Regions from separate parts of the Homo sapiens genome. Here all the other regions are linked to region 2. Evidence: promoter capture Hi-C in human tissues and cell types (Jung and others, 2019). All regions are on one chromosome and are shown on one strand. The core of a region is centred on a gene start or on the middle of the fragment in contact, and the rest is flanking DNA. Distances in the headings are between cores, read along the strand shown. Region 1 overlaps PTK2 (protein tyrosine kinase 2). Region 2 holds the start of SLC45A4 (solute carrier family 45 member 4). Region 3 overlaps PTK2 (protein tyrosine kinase 2). Region 4 overlaps PTK2 (protein tyrosine kinase 2).

The links. The method cuts DNA at HindIII sites, captures the fragments that hold promoters and counts their contacts. A contact is called where the count stands out against the background at its distance.
Region 1: a fragment that was not itself captured here is called in contact with the fragment with the promoter of SLC45A4 in region 2 in 1 of the 25 tissues and cell types used here (lymphoblastoid cells).
Region 3: a contact is called between a fragment that was not itself captured here and the fragment with the promoter of SLC45A4 in region 2, in 1 of the 25 tissues and cell types used here (lymphoblastoid cells).
Region 4: a fragment that was not itself captured here is called in contact with the fragment with the promoter of SLC45A4 in region 2 in 2 of the 25 tissues and cell types used here (dorsolateral prefrontal cortex and lymphoblastoid cells).

What each region holds. Positions count from the first base shown.
Region 1 is chr8:140,967,141-140,970,349 of GRCh38, reverse strand. The region is part of intron 1 of PTK2 (protein tyrosine kinase 2); the gene reads left to right. Among named protein-coding and RNA genes, the nearest start is that of PTK2, 33 kb to the left of the region's middle. The HindIII fragment of the contact is 4,557 bases long and covers 1-3,209 here.
Region 2 is chr8:141,306,788-141,309,966 of GRCh38, reverse strand. SLC45A4 (solute carrier family 45 member 4) reads left to right here and starts at 1,679. Exons shown (of 9, transcript NM_001286646.2): 1 at 1,679-1,871. RefSeq lists silencers at 1,444-1,683, 1,704-1,803. The HindIII fragment of the contact is 10,784 bases long and covers 1-3,179 here.
Region 3 is chr8:140,898,257-140,901,264 of GRCh38, reverse strand. All of the region lies in intron 2 of PTK2 (protein tyrosine kinase 2), which reads left to right. Among named protein-coding and RNA genes, the nearest start is that of PTK2, 100 kb to the left of the region's middle. The HindIII fragment of the contact is 9,283 bases long and covers 1-3,008 here.
Region 4 is chr8:140,880,665-140,883,490 of GRCh38, reverse strand. All of the region lies in intron 3 of PTK2 (protein tyrosine kinase 2), which reads left to right. Among named protein-coding and RNA genes, the nearest start is that of PTK2, 120 kb to the left of the region's middle. The HindIII fragment of the contact is 9,970 bases long and covers 1-2,826 here.

The sequences.
Region 1 (3,209 bases), core at 60-2,559, 340 kb after region 2:
TTTCACTTCTCTGAGGATCTAGAAGCTGGTCCCCAGCATAGTGTATCCATGAGGAATTGTTCAGGAAAAGAGAAGCTGCTCTAGACACTTTTTTAAATACACAGGATTATAGTCCTTCACTACTGTTGGAAGGGTTGGAGAATTGAAGGTCCAGGAAGCAGCTGTTCACAGTGTGTACTTCCCAGGAGCTCATCTGAGATGGGCAGAGGTCTCAGAATTGAAGCCTCTGCTGCTGTGGTTGAAGTGGATGGTTCTTGGAGTTTCTCCGAAGCTGCTGGGAATTCCTAGTAGGAGCTGCTCTATCTAGGTCTTAGTTTCAGAAGTAGGTCAGTTATTTTTTTCTCCCAGCACATCAGCCTACAGCTGCCTCCAGAGGGTAGTGTGCTCTTTTATCTTACCAGTCTTGCACGAGTTGCCCTTATTAGTTGACTCTAACCCTGAGTTGTAGCAGGAAGGGGTTTGTAGGAAATGTAGTTCTGGCTTCCCTATGTCACACAGGTGAATATAGAAGGTGGTAATGATGCAGAATTGACAACAGTCTAGCACAACAACCAGGCAACTGGATTTTCAAGTTGGGATTTTGGAAGAAATCTGAGCTACAGTTAGCATAAAGGTAGCTTTTAAAGTGAGCTTGCCTAGGAGGTGAGCATAAATAAGAGAAAGGACAGAGTCTTGGGGAACTCTAGAATTGACAAGTTTGCAAGAAGAGGAAGAACAGCTGTAGAGACTGGAAAGAAACCACCTGTGAGGTAAGAAGAAAACCAGGAGAAGATGGTGTCCTGGAAAGCAAGAGAAGGGAAGCAGGAATAATTACCTGTCAGTTGCAGCTGACAGAGGAAGTAATATCTAAGTATTGACCATTGGATTTAGCAGTATTGAGGTCATTGGTAATCTTGGATAGAGAAGTTCTGGTGGAGAGGTGAGATAAAGGGAAGATAATTAGTGATAGCAAGTATATTGTGTGTGTGCTTGTTTATAGGATTATTTGTATAATAGCTGTTTTAAAGTCTTTGTGAGATAATTCTGACCTTTGTGTCATCTCAGTATTGGCTTGTCTTGATTTTCTTTTTCTATGGGAATTGAGGTTTTCCTGGTTCCTCCTGTGCAGAGTAAGTTTGGATTGTATCCCCGACTTTTTGGATGTTATGTTAGGAGGAGACTCTGGGTCTTGTTTAAATATGCTGATGTGGTGGTGGTTTGAATTCTATTCCTCCCTCATCCACCTGCTACTGTTTACTTTTCAGAGTCCTCAAATAGCTTCTGCAGTTACTCTGTTCAGGCTTTCTAGTTGCTTTCAAGAGGAGTGACAGGGTGCAATGTGCTTATTTTTCCTTATCTAAACCTGAAGCTGTTCACTTCGCAAACTGCTTCTGTTACTCAGGTAATGGTCACCAGTTTCAGCTGGGCCATGATGCTCAAATGATTTTGCGTCCCTGATCAGTTACCTCTTCCAGCCCCCATAGGAGTTGCTGCTCGAATTATTTCTTGAATTTGGCTTATAGATAGATCCTTTTTTTGGTGTCTGTTCCCATAGTTTCTTTTGGTGTTTTTCTCAGGTAGACAACATGGCCCTTACCATATATCATGATAGCCATTAGTTTTCTCAAGTATGATAGAAGAGTTGTCTTGTGTTGAATGTATTGACTATGCCTATTGATTAGTTTAAGTAGAATAATGTCTCTTTGACATTTTAAGCCTTTCACACAATATAATTTTGTGGGGATATTTTTTACAATGCAGAATAGAACAGCGGTGAAGAGCACAAGCTGTAGACAGATTTTTGCTTTGCATTCATATCTGATCCTTGCTCCCTGTATGATGTTGACCAAGCTCCTTAAACTCTCTAATCTGTTTTTTCTCTTCTGTTTAGTAGAGATTATTGTGAATTGTAACTCTTTTGTAAATGTGATATATAGTTCTTAGTGCTTGGCTAGTCATATAAATAATTAAAAACGATTTTTTTTTTGGGCAGGATCAACTCGATGTTCATAAGTACAGTTCCTAACAGTGTAGTTATTTCTACTGTGGGAATTTAAGGGCTAATCTTCATCATTCCCTGATTTATATTGATCTAAAAACTGGAAAACAGTTTATATTCGTCATTTGCTATGCATACAAAATGGGCAAGTTATTACTGTTAATATTGGTTTTTAAAATTCAATAATTTTACAGCCTCTTTTAGGGTATTGGTTTAGTCAGTAGCTTAGTACCAGTTAGATGGCAAACCGTGTACTAAGCATCAGTGCAGAGATAGTGAATGAGACACAGTATTCCCACCTTTGAGCAGTGCCAGTCTAGTATTAGAATATTTTTGGCTAAAAAATTATTTTGAAGCATAAAGAAGCTTTTGTTTGCTCTGGTGATTTTCATAACATATTCACATTCTTAATGTATTTTTGGTTTTTCAGAAAGTTACTTCTGGCCTGTGTTCTTTCAGAATATAGGTTGCAGCTTGTGTTAAGTGCAGGAACTATTGATAGACTGAGTTTAGAAGAAGGGAAAATTGGTATAAAGTGGTTGTGTATTTTGAACATTGGGGAGCTTCATAGATGAGTTAAATTGTTAGGATATGGATTAAGAAATGTTGGGTTAGGCCAGGCGCGGTGGCTCACGTCTGTAATCCCAGCACTTTGGGAGGCCGAGGCGGGCAGATCACGAGGTCAGGAGTTGGAGACCAGCCTGGCCAACATGGTGAAACCCTGTCTCTACTAAAAATACAAAATTAGCTGGGCGTGGTGGCAGGCCTCTGTAATCCTAGCCACTCGGGAGGCTGAGGCAGGAGAATTGCTTGAACCTGGGAGGTGGAGGTTGCAGTGAGCCGAGATTGCACCGCTGCACTCCAGCCTGCATGACAGAGAGAGACTCCGTCTCAAAAAAAAAAAAAAAAAGAAAGAAAGAAAGAAAGAAATACTGGGTTTGAGCCTTATTTAGCACTTAGCATCAAACAGACATTTTCTTTTCCAGGGGCTCATCCTACTTGTTTAATTCCAGCCAGATAACTTATAATTTGTCAATATGTCATATTGAACATTACTCAGCTGTGGTAAGAACTTTCTGTCATGCTTGCTTTGGAAAGCCCAGATCATGTTTATTGTTTTAACAATATTACGTGGTTAATTTGGGAAGCAAGAATAGCAGCATGATTTTGAGTGCTGATAAACCAGTATTTGAATTCCTGGTCTCTCCCTTCTTTGCTGTGTGACCCTGGA
Region 2 (3,179 bases), core at 430-2,929:
GCTGGAAAAGTCATCATAAACTGAGCACACTGTAACCAGCACTCAGACCAAGACACAGAACACAGCCAGCCCCCAGACACGTCCTCTGTGCCCTGCTTCCTGGCTCTGGCACCCCTCCCTCCAAGGGTAACCACTATCCTGACTGCTACCCCCATATACACCTTCTACCACTTTATCCACATGGAAACAAATATGGCTTTTTATCCTCTGGCTTCTTTTCCTCAACATCATTTGTGAGAGTCATCCATGTTGTTGTGTGTAGTTGATTATTCACTGTCATTGCTGTCATTCCACTGTGTGAATATATCACAATTTATGTATCCATTTAACGGCTGATGAGCATTTCAGTAGTTTCCAGTTTGGGGCAATTATAAACACTGCTGCTATCAACAGAAACACAATGTTAGGTGTGTATCTAGGAGCAGAATTGCTGGGTAATCAAGGCCTTTCAAAAAGATTTTGAAAGTTGTACCACTTTGCATGTCCACCAACAGTGTCTGGCAGTTCCAGTTGCTCCATTTCCTTGTCAACACTTGATATGGTCAGATTTTCCCATTTCCGATGCTCTTGGAGGCTCTGCTCTGCACTTCACTTCTAAATTCCTTTAGCAACAGGTGAGATGGATCTTACGATTTCTATTTTACAGATGAGGACGCCAAGGTTCTGAGAAATGAAGTAATTCCTCCAAAGCAACTTAAACCCTGGCAAGGGTGCAGGGCTGCGACGTTAACAGGGTTGGCCTCAGCCCATCACATCTGTCTGTTAAAGCCGCCTCCCCAGACCTTGTCTTGATGGGGTTTCCCAGCAGTCCTGCCCTAGGGATTGTGGCCCTTCTACACGTGGGGAGAGACGGATCAGTGTCCCTGGCCAGGGCCAAGCCTGAGAGGGAGGCCCAGCCTCCAGGAAGCTCCGGGTCGGGTCTTCGTCCTGCCCCGCTCTCCAGGTTGGAGAGGGGACCCGCAGAGCGCGGGGCGTTGGGGGAGTTGGGGACGGGGGCGTGGTCCGGGACCAGGTAGGAGGTCTTCGGAGGGTGGCAGGGAGGGGAAAACAGGAGAGTTTTCTCCTGCAGCGGAGGAGGGGCTGCAGCACCTGGATGGGGCCCATGTCGCCGCGCCACGGGCAGGGGCGGAGGGGGCGGGAGGGTGCTTGCCAAGGGGCTGGGCTGCCGGGGGCCGGGGCCTCGTGGCTAGCCGGACCCCTCTGCGACAGAGTGGCGAGAGGAGCGGGGAGAGAAGGTGGGGACAGGCGGGGGCCACCTCCTGCGGCTGCAGAGAGGGATGGGGTGGATTGCGGGCCAGCGCTTTAGGGGAGAGAGGGCGGACGCTCGGTGCGGAGGGGCCGGGGCCGGGGCCGGGGCCGGGGGCGTAGCGGGAGGAGGGCGGGGGCGGGGCTGGATTATGGCTGGGGGCGGGGCCATGGCGAGACGGGGGCGGGAGCCACGGTGCGCGCGGGGGCGGGGCAGGGGCGCGGCGGGGGCGGGGCGGCCGTTCGGGGGCGGGGTGGGCGGCAGCGGAGGCCAATGAGCGCGCGCGGCGCAGACCCCGCCCCCCGAATCCCCGTCCCGCGGCGGCGGGTGCTGCATAGTCATGAGGCGCAGGGGCCGGCGCTGCGTCAGCGGAAGCGGCGCGGAGCGGCTGTTTCCGACCCGATAAAGCGGCGTTGTCTCCGCGCGCCGGCCGCAGCCTCGCAGCGCTCTCTCCGCGCCCGCGTCGCTGACTGACCGCCCGGCCGGCCGGCCGAGGGAGCAGCCCCCGCCCGGACCCGCAGCCGCCTCCCGACCCCGGTGCGCCCGGGGCTCCGCGCCCCCGTAGCCCCTGCCCGGCCCGGCCCGGCCGCCCCGCCGCCCCCGCGGCCCCGGCCGGAGGAGACAGGTGAGTGGCCTGCCGCCCGCAGCCGCCTGCCCCGCCGCCCCCTGCACCTCGCACCTGGGCGCCGGGCACCTGCAGCCTCCCCACCCCCACCTCCCGCACAGCCTCGGCCTCCAGGTCGGGTCCGCGCCGCAGCCCCAGCCCCGCACCTTCTCCGGGGGAGGGGACGTGCCCCCACCCGGCTTGCGCTGGCTCCTCAGGGCCCCCCAATTCCTTCCCGCCTCCTCTTTCCGGATTGCACCTGCCCTGGTCCCCAGCCCTGCAGCCTCCCTCATTCCCCCCACCCCGGCCCCCACCCCGGGGCGCGCGCCTTCATTTGGACCCGGCCCGCTTTCGCACCCATCAGTCCTCCCCGCCCCCAGTTCCTCGGTTTCTCTACCCAGAGAGGAGCCTGGCGCCTCTAACTCCTGGTCCTGACCCTGTCTTGTCCTTCTAACCCCTGCCTGCTATCTCTAACTTATGAGAATTCAACCAGCGATACACCACTCGCGAAGTGGCCCCCTCTCCCCTCTGTCTGGACCGGTCCTCCCAACCGAACACACTCCCTTCTTCCCCTTCTTCCCCTTCCCTTCTTCCCCTCCTTTCCCTCTGCCCAGTGCACACACGACCCTGGCAGCACTGCTAGCCAGTGTCCCCCGCCTCGGACCCCCAGCCTGCACCGCCAGACTGTGGCTCTGCCCCGGTCTCATCGGCACTGCGCTCCCTTGTGTCCCTTTGAAGATACCTTGATTTCCTGAGACCGACCTTGTCCCTGGAGGAAAGAGGCCAGGGCATCAGTTCATCCGGGCCCAGATTCCCTGCTCTGTAGAAGTCCCCGCACCTTCTGCGTCTCAGCACCCGCTGCCCCTTTCCCCTTTGCGCTTAACCCGTTCCTCCCCCAGGTATCCTGCTCTGGATTGGAGCACTTCCAGCAGCGGCTTTTCCAGCGGAGGCGGATCCACACGGGGCCCAGCCTCCTGGTTAGCTATTCAGAATGATTCTAGAAGGCGGGGGCTAGGGAGGGCTGGGAAGGGCCGCTTGACCTCCTAAGGAGCCTGAGGTGTTTGTGTCTCTCCAGTGCGGGTCACTGATGGAGTGTGGCTTCAGGTTCACAGACCTAGCCACTGACCCCCATCTGATACCTCAGCTGACTCCAGCAAAACAGGGCTTGTCGTTTTTATTACTGTTTTGGGGGCTGTCTTTTCCAGTCTATGACCCGGAGCGAGGAGGGTTTACCAGATGAGTGATTGAACTAATTGTTGTGGGGTCAGATGATTCTTGTGGGCTGGTAGATTCTGAATCGAAGCCCATTTCTGCTGGGGAAAAGCCACT
Region 3 (3,008 bases), core at 283-2,782, 410 kb after region 2:
CTATTTTGTGTATGGTGAGAGAGAGAGAGAGAGAGATGTAATTTCATTCTCCTGCATACAGTTATCCAGTTTTCTCGGCACCAGGTATTAAAGGAACTATCATTTCCCCACTGCATGATCTTGGAGGTTGGAGGCTTTGTCAAAAATGAATTGGTTGTAAATGTATGGATTTATATTTGAGATCTCCATTCTGTTTCATTGCCCTGTGTGTTTTTATGCCTGTACCATGCTGATTTGGTTACTATAGCTTATTGTAATTTTTGAAGTCAGGTAGTGTAATGTCTCCAGCTTTGTTCTTTTTGCTCAGGATTGCTTTGGCTATTCAGGGTCTTTTGTGGTTCCATATAAATTTTAGGATTTTTTTTTTCCTATTTCTGCGAAGAATGTCATTGGTATTTTGATAGGGATTCCATTGAATCTGTAAATTGCTTTGGGTATTGTTGTCATTTTAACAATATTAATTTTTCCAATCCTTTAACATGAAATATTTTTCAACTTGTGTATGTGTGTCCTCTTCAATTTCTTCCTTTTTTTTCTCTCTTTTTGAGACAGTCTCACTTTGTCACCCAGGCTGGAATGCAGTGGCACGATCTCGGCTCACTGCATCCCCCACCTCCCGGGTTCAAGCTGTTCTGATGGCTCAGCTTCTCGAGTAGCTGGGATTACAGGCATGTGATACCATGCCTGGCAAATTTTTGTAATTTTAGTAGAGATGGGGTTTCGCCATGTTGGTGAGGCTGGTCATGAACTCCTGGCCTCTAGTGATACGCCTGCCTTGACCTCCCAAAGTGCTGGGATTACAGGCATGAGCCACCACACCCAGCCCCTCTTCAATTTCTTTCACCAATGTTTTATAGTTTTCCTTATGTTGATCATTTACTTCTTTGGTTAAATTGACTCCTAGGTATTTGATATTTTTTGTAGCTGTTGTAAATGTGATTGCTTTCTTGATTTATTTTATACATTGTTCGTTGTTGGTGTATATAAATGCTACTTCTTTTCATATGTTGGTTTTTGCATCCTGCTACTTTACTGAATTTATCAGTTCTTAAAGCTTTTTGGTGAAGTCTTTGGGTTATAAGATCATGTCATCTGTCAACGAAACTAATTTGACATCTTCCTTGTCGATTCGGGTGCCTTTTATTTCTCTTGTCTAATTGCTCTGGCCAGGACTTTCAGTACTATGTTGAATAAAAGTGGTGAGAGTGGGCATCCTTGTATTGTTTCAGATCGCAGAGGAAAGGCCTTCACATTTTCCCTCAGCTCGATGTTAGTTTGTGGATTTGTCATATATGGCCTTTTATTATTTTGAGATATATTCCTTCTGTACCCTATTTTTTGGGAATTTTTATCATGAAGAGATGTTGAATTTTATCAAATGCTTTTTCTTCATCTATTGAGATGAGACCATATGGTTTTTTCTTCTTTGTTCTGTTAATGTGATATATCACATTTATTGATTTGCATATGTTGAACTCTCCTTGCATCTCTGGGATGAATCCTACTTAATCATGGTAATTGATCTTTTGAATGTGTTGTTTAATTCAGTTTGCTAGTATTTTGTTGAGGATATTTGTGTTTACGTTCCTCAGTGATATTGGCCTGTAGTTTTCTTTTTTTGTTGCATTGTTGTCTGGTTTTGTTGTAAAGGTAATACTGCCCTTGTAAAATGATTTTGGAAATATTCTCCCCTCTTCAATATTTTTGAGTAGAAGAGTTTGCAGTAGAATTGGTATTACTTCTTAAAATGTTTTTTGTAAAATTCATCAATTGGCTTATTGAGGTTTTCTTGTTTCTTCATGATTCAATCTTGATAGGTTGTATGTGTCCAAGAATTTATCAATTTATTCCAGCTTTTCAAATTTGTTAGCAAATGTTGTTCACAATAGTCTCTGTAAGAGTCTTTGTATTTCTGTAGTAATCAGTATAGTGGCTGAGTTCCAAGAAAACCGAGGGAATCTTGGTCAACTCTTTTTGGTTTATTTTTCTTTTGGTAATTGCCTTTTATTTCCTAGCCTAGAAAGTCCCTTAGCCAGAGTCAGAAGCCCACCCAGATTCAAGGAGAGGGAATACAGATTCCACTTATTAACAGAAAGTGTATCAAAGTTACATTGGAAAAAGGGCATATTAAACATTAAGTAATTTCATGTTAGCTGCTTTGTCTAGTAAAATCAGGAAATTTAGGTTAGACTTTTTATGGGAAAATAAACTCAAGCGTTATAGAAAATACCAAAATGATGGAGAAGATAACTTTTATACCAGTTTAGTTTAAGGAGTCACTTTAACTAGAAATATTACCCAGATTCTTAAAGCTCTTCAAGTTAGGTCATAATTTCTTTTGATTTAGCTGTCTCAATTTGCATTCCTTTGCTTATTCTCTCATGTTCTAACAGTGAGCTACTCTTCTTTCAACACCCTCCCTCACCACTCTCCCTCCCCTTTACAGCTTCAGCAAATGTCTCAAGTTTTATTAAAGGGTCAGTGTACTTTAAGCATAATGAGGTAGTTATCTTGGTGGGATCTTAACATGTACAGTAATTATAAATGAGGGAATTCTGGAGTAAAGAGTAGGGTGTTTATTATGTTCGTTGCATTTTTTTCCCTTTTTTGTATGTGCTGCATTATGTAGCATTTACATCAGGTTGTGGGTTGAACCTTGGAGCTTAACTCCAGAGGTTAGTAACACTTTTTTCTTCACATCTGGACTTGGAACTGCCCTATTTCTTCAAGAGGAGAAGAAACAGTTAGGCACTGAGAACCCTTGATATGTTTCCTATGTTAATTAAAGGGAGACCTAAAGTTGTAGACAGCTGAGCAGCAATTATTGACATTCCATCTTCTCTCCCATTCCAGTCCACATTTGCTCTCTTGCCTACAGTGATTTAAACTGGGCAGCCTGGCTGAGCCAGGACTCAGTAAAGTGTAGTCAGCAGACTAATGTTGGTGCAGATGAATGTTGGTGCTGGAACTGTTTAACAGCCTAGGACAAGATAAGGAAATTTGGTGTA
Region 4 (2,826 bases), core at 74-2,573, 430 kb after region 2:
CTTAGGAAGCAGTAAGGAGATAAACAGTGTCAACAATGTGTGTTGCTTCAGATATCTCTTCTAGTAATAAATCTGAAAATTAAGTGTGAGACTATAGCTAAAAATATAAAATATCCCTTTTTGTCCCCTCCTCCCCACAAACCACTTAATACTCATTTGCACATGTTCATTGTCATGTCTTTCTCCTGTGAGACTCTTTAAGACTTCTGAGGGTCAGAATTGCATCTTAACCGTTATTGTGTCACTAGCATCATGCATGTAGTAGGCACTTCAGATGTTCATGAATAAATGAATGAACAGTTTATGAAAGAATGAACATGGAGGAAAGAGTCACATGACCTATTTCGAACAGTGGTGAAGGTCATTTGTTTGAAAGTACTGTCTAAAAGGTAAGTGGCTAAATGGAACCAAGCAAAATAATAAAAACTTTCAGAAATGAACAAAAGTATAGCCTCATCTCACTAGTGAGTAATCAGGGAAATTAAACCATCATAACAACAGTAAAATACCTGTGGAAGTTTTTTTGGTCATTAAATTGATCATCATAAGATTAATTTTATTCATTAATGTGAGATAAATGATACTCTGTAACATTATGCATCAAGTATAATTGGTATAGTTTTGTTGATGGCCAGGAAGTTTGGTTGTGCTTATCAAAATGTTTCAGTTAAAGGAAATTTTGTCTGTTTCTATGCAGTGGTCATAAATACCTTTGATGACAGCTAGAAGGATGTTCATAGCAGTATTTTTATTTACACCTTCCTTTCTCCCTCAGAACAAGGAAATCTTTATTCATCAGTAGTAAAATGACCTTGCACATTTAATGTTATGTTCCTGATAAGATACAGGCATGATGTGAACACTGGCTTTTATTTTAACCTTGAAAAGAATTCTTTTACCATGAATGTCTACTATGAGAATTTAATCAGAAAAGTTGTGTATTTCTGACACTTGGGTTATGAGAGACAGGTTTCAGAGTAGCCAATTATTGTTTTGTATTTCATAGGACCAGATAGATGTGTCTTCAAAGTCACGATGAGAAATTTAAATTTAATTCTGGTACCTTTAGTGGCATATTAAAAACCCATGTCCTATTATCCTTTTAGAGACAGTCATTTTTATTCTAAATGTACGTGTGTGTGATATGAAAATGGGGCACTTCCATATGGCAGCACTGTAGGGTTGGTTGAGTTTACATTCCTCACTAAATACGTAGTTCTCAGAATTATTTGTTGAGTTATCCAGACCAGATATTTAGTTCTCAAAATTACTTAAGTTACTGAGTATATGCATTTAGCACCACATATTTAAGCACTTTGTATATTTATAATGTTTGCCACTATCCAGAGAAATTTATAAGGGTGCTAGAGAATGAGCAGTAGGACAGAGTACGATATGGATGCGTAATGAGAAAGCAAAAAATGAAACAGAAGGTAATATCTGTGTGTTTATTGCTTTTCACTGTTTCATGGAGAGTGAAAGTTGAAAGCTGGTTTGCTCATGAGGTACTACTGTATGCAAAGGCTGTGTCACTCAGATCCACACTTTGAAGTCACTCTGAGTCTCTTCAGGCAGCATGATCAAGTGAATGGAATAAGATTCTCTCTCTTACGTGAAACTCCAAGACAGAAACCTGCCTTTCCCTAACAGATACCACAGTTCTGGGCTAAGCCTCTTTGAGACTGGTTTGCTGCAGGTCTCCTATATGTGTGCTGTGAGTTCAGCAGAGATGAAGTGACTTTTTCATGGGGTCACTACAGAAGGCAACTGGAGAAGCTGGGCTTTTTCTTAGGATGTGAATGGTGACAATTATGAGAAATGATTTGTGTTCCTTACTGCCTTATATTCAACATCAGGTTATGGAAGGTTAGTAGACCAAGTGACCTGAGGCAGATGGCTAGAGACCACTGTAGACACTGATCGCAGCTCTAACAAGAGAGAGCCGCCTCTTGAATTGGTAGTAGCAGTGAGCTGTGGAGCAAGGAGACTTACTGACCTGTGGTTTACCAAGGATAACTGGTGTTGGTGCGTACTGGGTGTTGATCTGGCAGAGCTGGACAGGGAACCAGGAGCTTTTGTGGGAATTTCACAGAGGTGCTAGCTTCCATCCTTTATAGTTCATGGATTTGTGTGTTGGCAAGAAGCTGCAGAAGTCACTTCTGAGAGAATTGTTAAAAGGTGCTCCTTCCTTTAGGCAAGTTCCCCACCCCAGAGCACAAGGTTTAAAGACTAGAACGTGGACTCTTTTCACCCTCAGCTGGATATCCTTGTGTAGGTAGGGTACTGTCATTTACAGTGGCCCTGTCAGGAATTCTGGGCTTGGATCAAAAAGCCAGGAAGGACATTTTATGCCTCTGTCAGTTCCACATAGGAGTCTGTAGGCTGCAAACATCCTTCCTGTCCTGATGAGAATTCATCATCTTTATGAACCTGTCTTTGACTCTTCCAGCCTGGTCCTCTGTTGATGCTTTCTCTCTTGATACCATGTTTACTCCTTTCCTTTGTCCCTCTCTCTGCCACTTCCTGTGCTTGGTAAACAACTTTGTACCTGGGATTGAGTTGTCTGAAAGAGAGATTGACTCTACCACTTCATTCACTCAGTGCCCTGGGAGGTCTGCCACATGCCAGGTACCAGTATGGGGAGCACAGCACAGCAGCACACATCCTCAGTGTGCATATACTGGGTTTTGGACAGTTTTTGTATATGGTACATGTTACGATTTATCTTTGCTTATGGAGAAGGCTGGGGATAATATCCTTTATCATGATCAGCAGCATTGTGCTGTAATAAAGCAATACTTGATGAGTGCAGGAACTTTTTTGTAT